3 separate regions of the Homo sapiens genome follow, and all the other regions are linked to region 1. The links are contacts of gene promoters, found by promoter capture Hi-C in blood cells and fetal thymus (Javierre and others, 2016). All regions are on one chromosome and are shown on one strand. The core of a region is centred on a gene start or on the middle of the fragment in contact, and the rest is flanking DNA. Distances in the headings are between cores, read along the strand shown. Region 1 holds the start of VPS13C (vacuolar protein sorting 13 homolog C). Region 2 overlaps RORA-AS1 (RORA antisense RNA 1). Region 3 overlaps RORA (RAR related orphan receptor A).

The links. The method cuts DNA at HindIII sites, captures the fragments that hold promoters and counts their contacts. A CHiCAGO score of 5 or more calls a contact.
Region 2: a contact is called between a fragment that was not itself captured here and the fragment with the promoter of VPS13C in region 1, in 1 of 17 cell types (fetal thymus). The highest score is 9.3, in fetal thymus.
Region 3: a fragment that was not itself captured here is called in contact with the fragment with the promoter of VPS13C in region 1 in 1 of 17 cell types (fetal thymus); the score reaches 5.5 in fetal thymus.

The regions. Positions count from the first base shown.
Region 1 is chr15:62,058,843-62,062,239 of GRCh38, forward strand. VPS13C (vacuolar protein sorting 13 homolog C) reads right to left here and starts at 1,605. Exons shown (of 85, transcript NM_020821.3): 1 at 1,433-1,605. The coding sequence starts at 1,532. It overlaps VPS13C-DT (VPS13C divergent transcript), which reads left to right and starts at 1,661. Exons shown (of 2, transcript NR_135690.1): 1 at 1,661-2,001; 2 at 2,126-3,397. RefSeq lists a silencer at 1,467-1,816 and an enhancer at 1,867-1,916. The HindIII fragment of the contact is 3,439 bases long and covers 592-3,397 here.
Region 2 is chr15:60,480,189-60,483,585 of GRCh38, forward strand. All of the region lies in intron 1 of RORA-AS1 (RORA antisense RNA 1), which reads left to right. Among named protein-coding and RNA genes, the nearest start is that of RORA-AS1, 2.7 kb to the left of the region's middle. The HindIII fragment of the contact is 1,439 bases long and covers 846-2,284 here.
Region 3 is chr15:60,588,614-60,592,010 of GRCh38, forward strand. The region is part of intron 2 of RORA (RAR related orphan receptor A); the gene reads right to left. All of the region lies in intron 3 of RORA-AS1 (RORA antisense RNA 1), which reads left to right. Among named protein-coding and RNA genes, the nearest start is that of RORA-AS2, 91 kb to the right of the region's middle. RefSeq lists silencers at 3,061-3,180, 3,211-3,397. The HindIII fragment of the contact is 6,493 bases long and covers 1-3,397 here.

The DNA.
Region 1 (3,397 bases), core at 355-2,854:
GGAGTTGGAGGCTGCAATGAGCTACGATCTTGCCACTGCACTCCAGCCTTGGCAACAGAGCAAGTCCTTGTCTCAAAAAGACAAGCCAAAAAAAAAAAACAACAACAACAACAACCAGGCTCTTCCGTAATTCAGGGTATAAACAGCATTGCCCAATATATGTTCCATATACGTAATTATAAATTTTAGAAGCCAAGTTTAAAAAGAAAAAAAGTAAAACTAAAAAACACGGGAAATACACTTTAATATTATATTTAATTTAACCCAATATATTCAAATATTATTTCAACACATAAGCAACATAAAAATTATTGAGGTATTATTTTTTTCTCCTACTTCATTAGGAGTAATGCTTATTCAAAACGATGTTTTAATTCATACAGCAAGTCTCAATTAGCACTAACCTCATATCAAGTGCTCCACAGCTACAGTGGCTAGTGGTTACCCTAGTGGACAGGGGAAGTCTATAGCTATTTGTTGTTGCTTGAATTAAAAGCAGATCCATACATTTGAGTCGTTTTTTGAATTTTCCTCCAAAGCTGACAAAGTTCCCAAACCTTTTGTGGAGTGAGAAAGTCCCAAAGTCCTCAAAGCTTAACACGTAATTCATGCAAACGATTAAGCTCGTTGAAGAGTGTATGTTTAAGTACACTATTTCCTGAATACTTTTATACACTTAATCTCCAGGATAAAAACGTTGGCATAAATTCCTGAGCATGCAACCAAGCAGACACCTAATTAATGACGATGCTGGTCGAGGCTTGAATTTCTCTCTATTGCTCCAAAACAAAATTCAAAATCCTCTTCGTATTGACGGAAAAGTAAATATTAAAGGAAGAAATCATTTTCACAGGAGCTGAAAGCATTAAGAGTAAGAATCCCTAAGCACACGCCTATCTTAAAGATCTCCTGCCCGTTCCTCTCCAAACCCGGTAATCCTAAAGAGAAGGAACCCAGTTCTTGCTCCCTGTAAAATGATAGTGAAGATAACTGCGAGATGCAACTTCCTCCTTTTTTCTTAGTGCCACTTCGAGCGTATATGACCAGACAACCATGCTCACTCCACGCGATACCGAAACAGAAAGGGCTCTGTTTTTATGCTGTAGGGCCAAAGGGGCCACCCTGAGTGCAGCGAGAGGACCACAGAAACGGGCAGGGCGGGGACAGCAGGGCCAGGGCTTGGCCTCGGGGGACGAGAAAGGTGGGAACTTTGGCAGCGCGGGCGGGATCCCGCCGCATCTCCCCAGCCGGAGTCGGGACTGGGACCCCGAGAATCCGCGGGCGGCAGAGGCTCCCGCATCTAGCACCTGCCGCACCGGGATGGGGAGTCTCAGGCGGCGCAGGGAGCAGGGCCCGGGCAGAATCCCGGACGGAGCAGCCCTCGGCTGGGCCCTCAGCGCCCGCAGCCCACTGGCCGCGCCCTCTCGCTTACCGCCCCAGATGCCCAGCTTCAGCTGGGACTTGTTCAGGTTCTCCACATAGTCCCCCAGGAAGCGGTTCAGCAAGTCCGCGACCACCGACTCCAGCACCATGGTGGCGCTGAGGCACAAGGAGAGGGAGGAGCCGGAACCGCCCGGCGCAGCTGAGGGCTGCGACCAGCGCTGCAAATGACAGCCCCTCCGGCGCAGGCCCACCCCCGCGCCGCGCGCGTGACCCCGCCGGTGCGCAGGCGCGCTGTCGCCCGGCCGGTAGCTAAGGAGGCCCAGCTGTGATCCCGAGGCTTTGTAGGCGCCGCAGCCCTGGCCCTCTAGAGGCCGACGGAGGAGTGCGGGGGAAGTTAGCTTGCGCCTGTCTCGTCAGCCGTGCACGAGAAAAAAAAGGACCTTCGAGAAGAACAAGGGAGGGCAAGAGTTACCGAGTACAGGGACATCTATGTGGCCGCTCTGCTTTCCCGCCGTCACCTGCTGTTGAACTCCGGCCGCATCGCGGTGTCCGGAGCCGCCTGGCCTGGAGTATGCGCTGAGCGTCACCTAGGCAACCACCCCTGCACCTGTGGATCAGGTGGGGGAAAGGGACCGACCGCGTTCTTGTCCTGCTAGAGTTCGACTCCGCCTGGGGCTTGGTCTCTGCTTCTTGAAAACATTGTTTTTTTATTTTGTTTCTGTTTTGTTTTGTTTTGAGACAGGGTCTCGCTCTGTTGCCAAGGGTAGAATGCAGTGTCGGGATCATAGCTCACTACAGACTTGACATCCTGGACTCAAGAGATCCTCCTGTGTCAGCCTCCCGAGTAGCTGGGACCACTGGCGCGCGACAAATAATTTGAAAGTGGGAGGAGGGGAACAGAACCACATCAAATGGCAGATATCATAGAATGAGAACTGAATATACGCGTTTTGTGGGAAACGCGTTCTTTTCCCCTTTCTCTAAGATTCGCTTTTAATTCACTAGCCACTAACCAGTTACCTATCTCATTACAGATATAAAAAACAAAACGTAGTAGTGCCTTTTTAAGTATGAGTTACTTGTTATTTATATATCACTTTCTTCCATGCTATCGTTGAACTGTCTTTGATGTAGCACGACCTTAAAAGCAGAGCTTTTATACCACAAGATCTTTCAACCCTTGTGAAATTTAACCACCCATTGAGATTCACCTCTTTAGAGAACTAGAAATTTTTTCCTAAAATATATTTCAAAAAGTTGTTGAGATACAGTACACAGGAAGAAACCTAAGAAATGCTGATTATTTGTAGTCACAAGCATTAATAAGTGCTTTGCTACGAGGAAGTGTCTGAGAAACTATTCGTGTATTTTTCTTAAACAACCTAGGCTTGCACAGGATCACAAAGAAAAATCTTAAATTCAAAGTCCGCTGGAGAAGAAAGAAAATCAAAATGGCTACAATTGGTGTTGTGTATTAAATAAAATTAAAAGTACAAAGAAAGACCCAGTCAGTACTAACTAGTACTATCAAGATCACATTCCTCTCCCACTTTTGCACACTCCATTCCTCTTTAAGAAGATAAATCCTTAACCGTCTGTTTTTCCTAGCTGGTCACAAAGACAAAATACTAGTAAGTACTTTGGATTTCTTCACCATCCACAACCAAATAACAGCCTAACCTGTCTATTTTGCTTTTGCCATCTTTCCTAAATTCTCCATGTTTTTCTTCTGGACCATGCCATCCATCTCCTTGAAATTCACTTCCTAGCCTCCAGTTATTCCTTCCTCCAGTCTATTCTCATGAACACCGGATGTGTTTTCCCAAAGCACAGGTGAGCTTAGGTTAGTCACCTGCTCAAAAACATCCAATAACTTCCCAGTGTTTAGAACACTCTCTTCAAACTTTCTCCACGTTCTTTCTAGTCATACACTCTAACAATCCCGCTTCCTTTTTACATTCACACTGACTATGCTCCAAGAGGAATGTAAAGAAGCAATATATGTTCTGGTTGA
Region 2 (3,397 bases), core at 315-2,814, 1.6 Mb before region 1:
ACAGTACAATAGAAAGATAACTGATTGGTTAACATCAGGTTACTTCAAGTTACTCTTTGCTGTAGGGACTAAAACAGAGGAAATTCATTATCTTGCTGATTGAAAATTGAAACTGGCCTGTTACCTCTGTCTCCTGATTTCTTGGAGGGCCACATAACTCAGTTTCGGTGTGGTGAGCCTGAGTGATACCATTTTTATTTTAGTCTGGTCTCTTGGGGTCTAGTGCAGAAGTTCTAAACAATGGCCTCCTATAATTTTTTTTAATACAAGGAACTGCATAAACTTATTGCATAAACAGAATCTAGTGTGTGCTATTAGGGAAGCATGTTCTACATTTTATTTTAAGACAGAGTCTCCCAGACTGGAGTGCAGTGGTGTGATCTCAGCTCACTGCAACTTCTGCCACCTGGGTTCAAGCGATTCTCCTGCGTCAGTCTCCCTAGTAGCTGGGACTACAAGTGCATGCCACCACACTTGGCTAATTTTTGTATTTTTTTTTTAGTAGAGATGGGGTTTGCCAGGGTGATCTTTAACTCTTGACCTCAAGTGATCTGCCCACCTTGGCCTCCCTAAGTGCTGGGATTACAGGTGTGAGCCACTACCCCTGGCTGACATTTTAGACTGATTTAGAATATTGTTAGAAATTATGTTAATGTAAAAAATATGCTACAGGAAACCATAGGTAGTTTATTTTGCCTGGAATGCAAGGTCTCTGAAGAGTAGTAGAGGAAAAGGGGTTGGAAAAACTGGTTGAAGCTAGAACACGTAAGATTTTATAAGCCAGACTAAGGAAGTTTGACTTTATTGCATAAGAAATAAAATGCTAGGAAACAAACAAACAAAAAAGCTTACATAATGACACAATCAGAACTGGCTGGCTGTGCTTCAGGAAAGTTCACCTGGCAACCTACGGAATTCATTGAAGGGAGGAGGCCAGTTAGGAGACAGTGTTTGTGAATGCTTAAAAAAATCAACCACTACAATGCCTGGCACTGTGCAGATAGCATTTCTTTTTTTCTTTTTCTTTTTTCTTTTCTTTTCTTTTTTTTTTTTTTTTTGAGATGGAGTCTCCCTCTGTCGCCCAGGCTGGAGTATAGTGGGGCGATCTTGGCTCACTGCAACCTCTGCCTCTCGGGTTCAAGCGATTCTCCTGCCTCAGCCTCCTGAGTAGCTGGGATAACAGGTGCATACCACCACGCCCGGCTAATTTTTGTATTTTTAGTAGAGACAGGGTTTCACCATGTTGGTTAGGCTGGTCTTGAACTCCTGATCTCGTGATCCGCCCACCTCGGCCTCCCAAAATGCTGGGATTACAGGCGTGAGCCACCATGCCTGGCTGCAGATAGTATTTCTTATTAGGTAAGTGATGTGGATGGCTTGTGTAGGACAAAGGCAGCGTAAAAGTTCATGTGTTGGGTACTGTCTCACAAAGCATGCAGTCAGGAAGAGTTGGGGACACCTGACCTGGCCTGAAGGAACTGCTCTAATTGTTTAAGAGCTCATGCTGCTGGGAGGTACCTGCCCATGGTAGTGTGATATGGTAGCATTACCATACAGCTCTGTGTTGAGATTTCAGATCATCACCAAACAGTATGCTCTGAACTGGTATATCTGAGTTTCAATGGTTGCAAGATAGCACACAGAATCAGAATTTTTAGAATCAGAACACGATTTGGAGATTATCTAGTCCAACCCTCTTGTTTTCCTTACAAGGAAATGGGCTCGTTTCAAGATTGTCAAGTGACTTTTCCAACATCACATGATCAATGATAAAACTGATACTAAAACTCAGGTCTCATAATTCTTGCCAACGTGTGCATTGTGCATCTTCCCAAAATTCATATCTTATATGAATATGTAATTCATATGTCATATTATAGGAGCCTAATGGCCTCCTATAATTTTTGTTTACTACAAGGAATCCTAATGGTATTTGGAGGTGGTATCTTTAGGAGGTAAGTAGGTTTAGATTAAGACACAAGGGTGCAGCCCCAATGATGGAGTTCATGCCCTTGTCAGAAGAAGAGAAACCACAGCTCATTCTCTCCCCCAAGTGAAGACACAGCAAAAAGGTAGCCATCTGCAAGCTAGAAACAGAGTTCTCACCAGGAACCAAATTGGCTGGCAGCTGGATCTGGACTTCCAAGCCTCCAGAACTGTAAGAAAATAAATGTCTCTTGTTTAAGCCTCCCAGGCTATGGAATTGTCATAGCAGCCCCAGCGGAGTAACATAAAATACAATAAATATATGCATCCTTTCTTTTCTGTTTTGTGAACCACAAGAAGCTTAGTGGCAAGAACATGGACTTCTGGATTCCAGTAGTTATCTGTCTCAGGTTGGCATCTCAGTTTTTCTGTCTACTGGCACTGTGATCCTAGGCATGTCGTGTGTCCTCTTGAGTCTCAGTTTCTTCATCTGGATAATGGAGGCAGTGATACCTCACCTACAGAATTGTTGTGAGGACTAGAAGTAATATATATATAAAGTGCATTGCAAAGAGTAAATGTTCAACAAATACTAGCTATTAGTATATAATTTTTCTGAAAGAAAAATCAAAGATGAACAAAACACAGTGGAGATGGCACTGTACAAAGACCTATAATGCAAAGAAGAAATGGTGGGCCGGCCGCGGTGCCTCACGCCTGTAATCCCAGCACTTTGGGAGGCTGAGGTGGGTGGATCACCTGAGGTTGGGAGTTCGAGACCAGCCTGACCAACATGGAGAAACCCCGTGTCTACTAAAAATACAAAATTAGTCTGACGTGGTGGTGCATGCCTGTAATCCCAGCTACTTGGGAGGCTGAGGCAGGAGAATCGCTTGAACCCGGGAGGCATTGGTTGCACTGAGCCGAGATTGCGCCATTGCACTCCAGCCTGGGCAACAAGAGTGAAATCAGTCTCAAAAAAAAAAAAAAAAGGAAATGGTATACATATATATATAGAAGATTCCATGGGACCACAAATGAGTAAGAAATTCATTCTGATGGAGATAATTTAGAGATTACTTCAGAGGAGTTTAATTTATTTTGGGTCTTGAAGGATGTGTAGGAGTTCACTGGGTAGAAAAGGGGTTGTGGGTTTTAACTGTGGGAAAAAAAATCACAGAAGTGTGAACAGCTCCACATATTCTGGGGAAGAGGAAAAGCTGTTGCATCGCTGTGTTGGGGAAATGAAGGTTGTTGGACTGGAAATGGTGAAGCGGACTAGAGATGGTCTTCATTGCCATGCTAGAGATTTTGGACTTTATTCTCTGCATTATGGGGAATCTGTGTGTGTATATGTTTGTGTATCTGTGTTTTAAATAGCTTGAGTTATAAGCTACATACCATAAAATTCATTCATTCTAATTGTACCATTAGGTGACTTTTAGTAAATGTGTGAAGTTTCACAACCCTC
Region 3 (3,397 bases), core at 401-2,900, 1.5 Mb before region 1:
TGTGTCTCACTTGAGTGGGAGGGAAAGATAGGAGAAAAAGGAGACTAATGAGAATTATTAATATATTTACAAGTGTATCTACTACATATTAAAGAGCTAAGGTTTAGATGACATACTGTATATTTCTAAATGACTATTTCTGTTTAGAAATTACATTATTTCATGACTGGGCAGCATTAAATAAATTATATGGTTCTCAATTCAAATCGTGGGCAAAAGGGTTTACTTGTGCATGCTGCTGCTTTGTATCTCAAGTAACGTGATTGAAATATATAAAATCAAGAGGCTGCCCATGAAAATGGTGCTTTTAAAATACTCTCTACTTCATGGAGGGTCCAGGCTTCTCCCTCCTCCCATGGACAAATGGATTCAGAAATCCTCTTTGTCTTTAAAAGAACTGATCCCTTCTTGCCAGATAAGCATTCTGCTCAGTAGTGGCAACCATTTGGGTTTTCTCTTTTCAAGATCCAGCCATCACCTTCTCCCAATCCTTCCCATCACAAGTAACAAAAATGGTACAAAAATCCCAGTGAAGGGATACCAGGCAATGGGTCCTTACAGTGAGATCAGAGATCGAATTCTAATTTCATTTCGTAGAAAGAAAGGCCAAGTTCTTCAAAACTACAGAATCGTATTTATTACAGTTGGACATACTACCAACACATACAGTATTTTCAAAGTGGTGAGGAGTCTTGCATTTGCACATGAATCAGGCCGGACGAAGAATCTACGGGCCAGAAATTCCCTTTAAGCCTCCCTGTGCTCTTATAACTCCATTTGCACAAACACAGGCTGAGCACTCATATGAAGCAAAGGGGTATATCATCTACTGAAACTGATGAACGTCTTACATTTCCTTTCAGTACTCCGCTGCCGCGTGACATCTGGCCAATGCACTTTTATGATGAGCAGAACAAGTGCTCCCCCGATTATAAATGTTATAGCTGGCTCTCTCCCTTTGCCCAAGAAGCAATCCAAATGGTATTGGAATTTTGTTGTTAATTAAACAAAAGCAAAATTGAAGGATGAGACTAGAGTTACTCAAATGAAGATTTATTACATTTGAGCATGAAACTAAGCCTAAACTTATTTGACAACTAATGCAGAGGAAGGATTTTCTTCTTTGGTGAGTTCAAAGGGCCTGATTTACTGATGTTTAAAAAACATCAGTAAATCAGCCAACAAAGAGAATCTTTCTTTTATGGTGGCTTGTTCTCTCCTCCCTTGTCCACATGCATCCACATACCAAAAAGCTATATTGTAAACAGTATTTCTGTTTTGCACGAAAAATCTAGTTATACAAACTGTCTTACACATGGAACCAATTTAACTATTAAAACTGAGAAGCAATAGGGAAGTATTTAATAAGATTCTAAGCCAGTTTTTTCCTCTAAATCTGATATGGAAACATTTACAGCATTCCTCACTTCCCCACAAACTATTTTCTCTTTCAGCTTAAGTTTGCACCAAAGCAAGATAATCCCATTAAAATTCAGGATATTATGATATTGGGAGTGAAATATTCTAATTGTTCAGATGCATTCTCTCTCCCTCTTCCTCTATCTCTCTCTCTCTCTCTCTCTCTCTTTCAGGCAGCTGAGTTTATAGAAAAATTGCATTGCCAGTACTTCTGAGGCACTTTTTTCAAAGCACAATACTATGAAACTATTATTTTATGGCAGACAGAGGTCACTCCAAGTGTGGGGGTAGCGTGTGTGATTCTTATTATTCTATTAGCAAGGGACAGTATGGAACTTCACTTTGTAGAATTACAAAAGCAAAAGCCTATGTACTAGGAAACATCAACTTTAAATCAAAATATTAAAACGTACTTTCCTTTTTTTTGGTGGGTCGTTACTGTTCATTAGGGGAGAAAGCAGTTTAAAATGTCTCAGCCTCTCGCCTTTCCTCCAATCAACACAAAGTATATTAGACAAAGTGGATAAAGACTGGCATTGACATCTTCCAAATAGCAAAATCAATTTTATAATTTAAAGACAAAAAATGCTTTAACTGCAGAGGGCATTTAAGACGTTTCACACTTACAGGGCTAATGAAATGCAGGACTAGCATAAAAGTTTTTTGGGGGGGTGGGGGAGAATAGATTTTTTAACATAAGAAGTCGATAAGAAATCTTAATAATTTTTCCTCCCAAATAATTTTAAGTGCTTAAGAGCGCGGATCACGGGAGGTTTCCTCTCTTTTACTTATATGAATTACATATTCTAAAAATGATTAAATCCCATTCCCCTCAAGCCACAGGGGAAAAGAGAAAATTTGCTGTGGGCACATTATATAGAAAGATTTCATCTCAAGCAGCTCATCTTAACGTCCAGTACGTTTCGGCCTGTTAATAATTAATAAAAGAGATGCCACCCAATCTCTAGTGAAGAAAGGCAAAGCTCGGTGATCCGAAAGTAAACCCAGCGCAGATACCGAACTGGTGTCCTTCATTCCAGATTGCAACACAACCCCAAACTAGCAAACGTTTAACAGGCGCTTGGCACCCGCACCGGTGGCTAGGACCCGCAGGACAGTCTGGGTCTGCACAATTGCTGCGCATTAGGGAAGCCGCGTCCGCCGCAAACAGATGGGGCTCTAAATCCCCAAGCCTGGCGGCCGGGCCTGCGAAGCAGCTCGGGCAGATTATCCACGGCGAGGAACCTGCGGGCGCACAAGCGGGCGGCGGGCGGCGGGCGGCGTGCTGCGGGCTGAGTTTCTCCGGAGCTGTTTGCAACCGTCCCAAGAGCGAGTCTCGGTTTCTCCGGCAGCACGGGCGACTTCCTGAACACCTCCAAACTTTAGCTTTCCCATCAGAAAGTTCCCTGACTTGCCACGGTTTCTCTCCTTCTCACCTGAGAGGACCTAGAGCCAGTCCTCCCTCCAACCAAATCCCCCTCCCCTCCCGCCCCCGGCCCGGCTACGGAGTCCTGATGAGGGCGGAAGGCCGGGCCGCCCGGCAGGATTGGCCGCGACTAACCCGCGCCCGTCGGCCCTCACCACGGTCTAACCTCCGCCCCTGCCCGCGGATCCCGTGGGCTGCCGAGTTCCTCCCCACCTCCATCCACCAGCCAAAGTGTCAAGCGGGGTGCGCCGCGGCTCCCTGGGCCGCCCAGAGCGTCTTGGCACGCTCGAGGCGCCCGTCTCGCTCCGGCCCGCGCGCTTTCGGAAGTGGCCGCGGCGGGACACAGCGCGGGACACAGCGCGGACCTGCGGCACTTGCCCGGCCGGCGGCCGCTGAGGCGCTCGGGGACGCAGGGGCAGGGCGCAAGGCCTGGGGCGCTGACCAGTCCCCGGGGATGACATCGCGACAACGCGCACGCACGGCCCTGCCCGGCCGCGGCGCCTCCCCGACCTAGGCCGGAGCTGTCCCGGGTGCGGGCCCTGGGGACCGGCC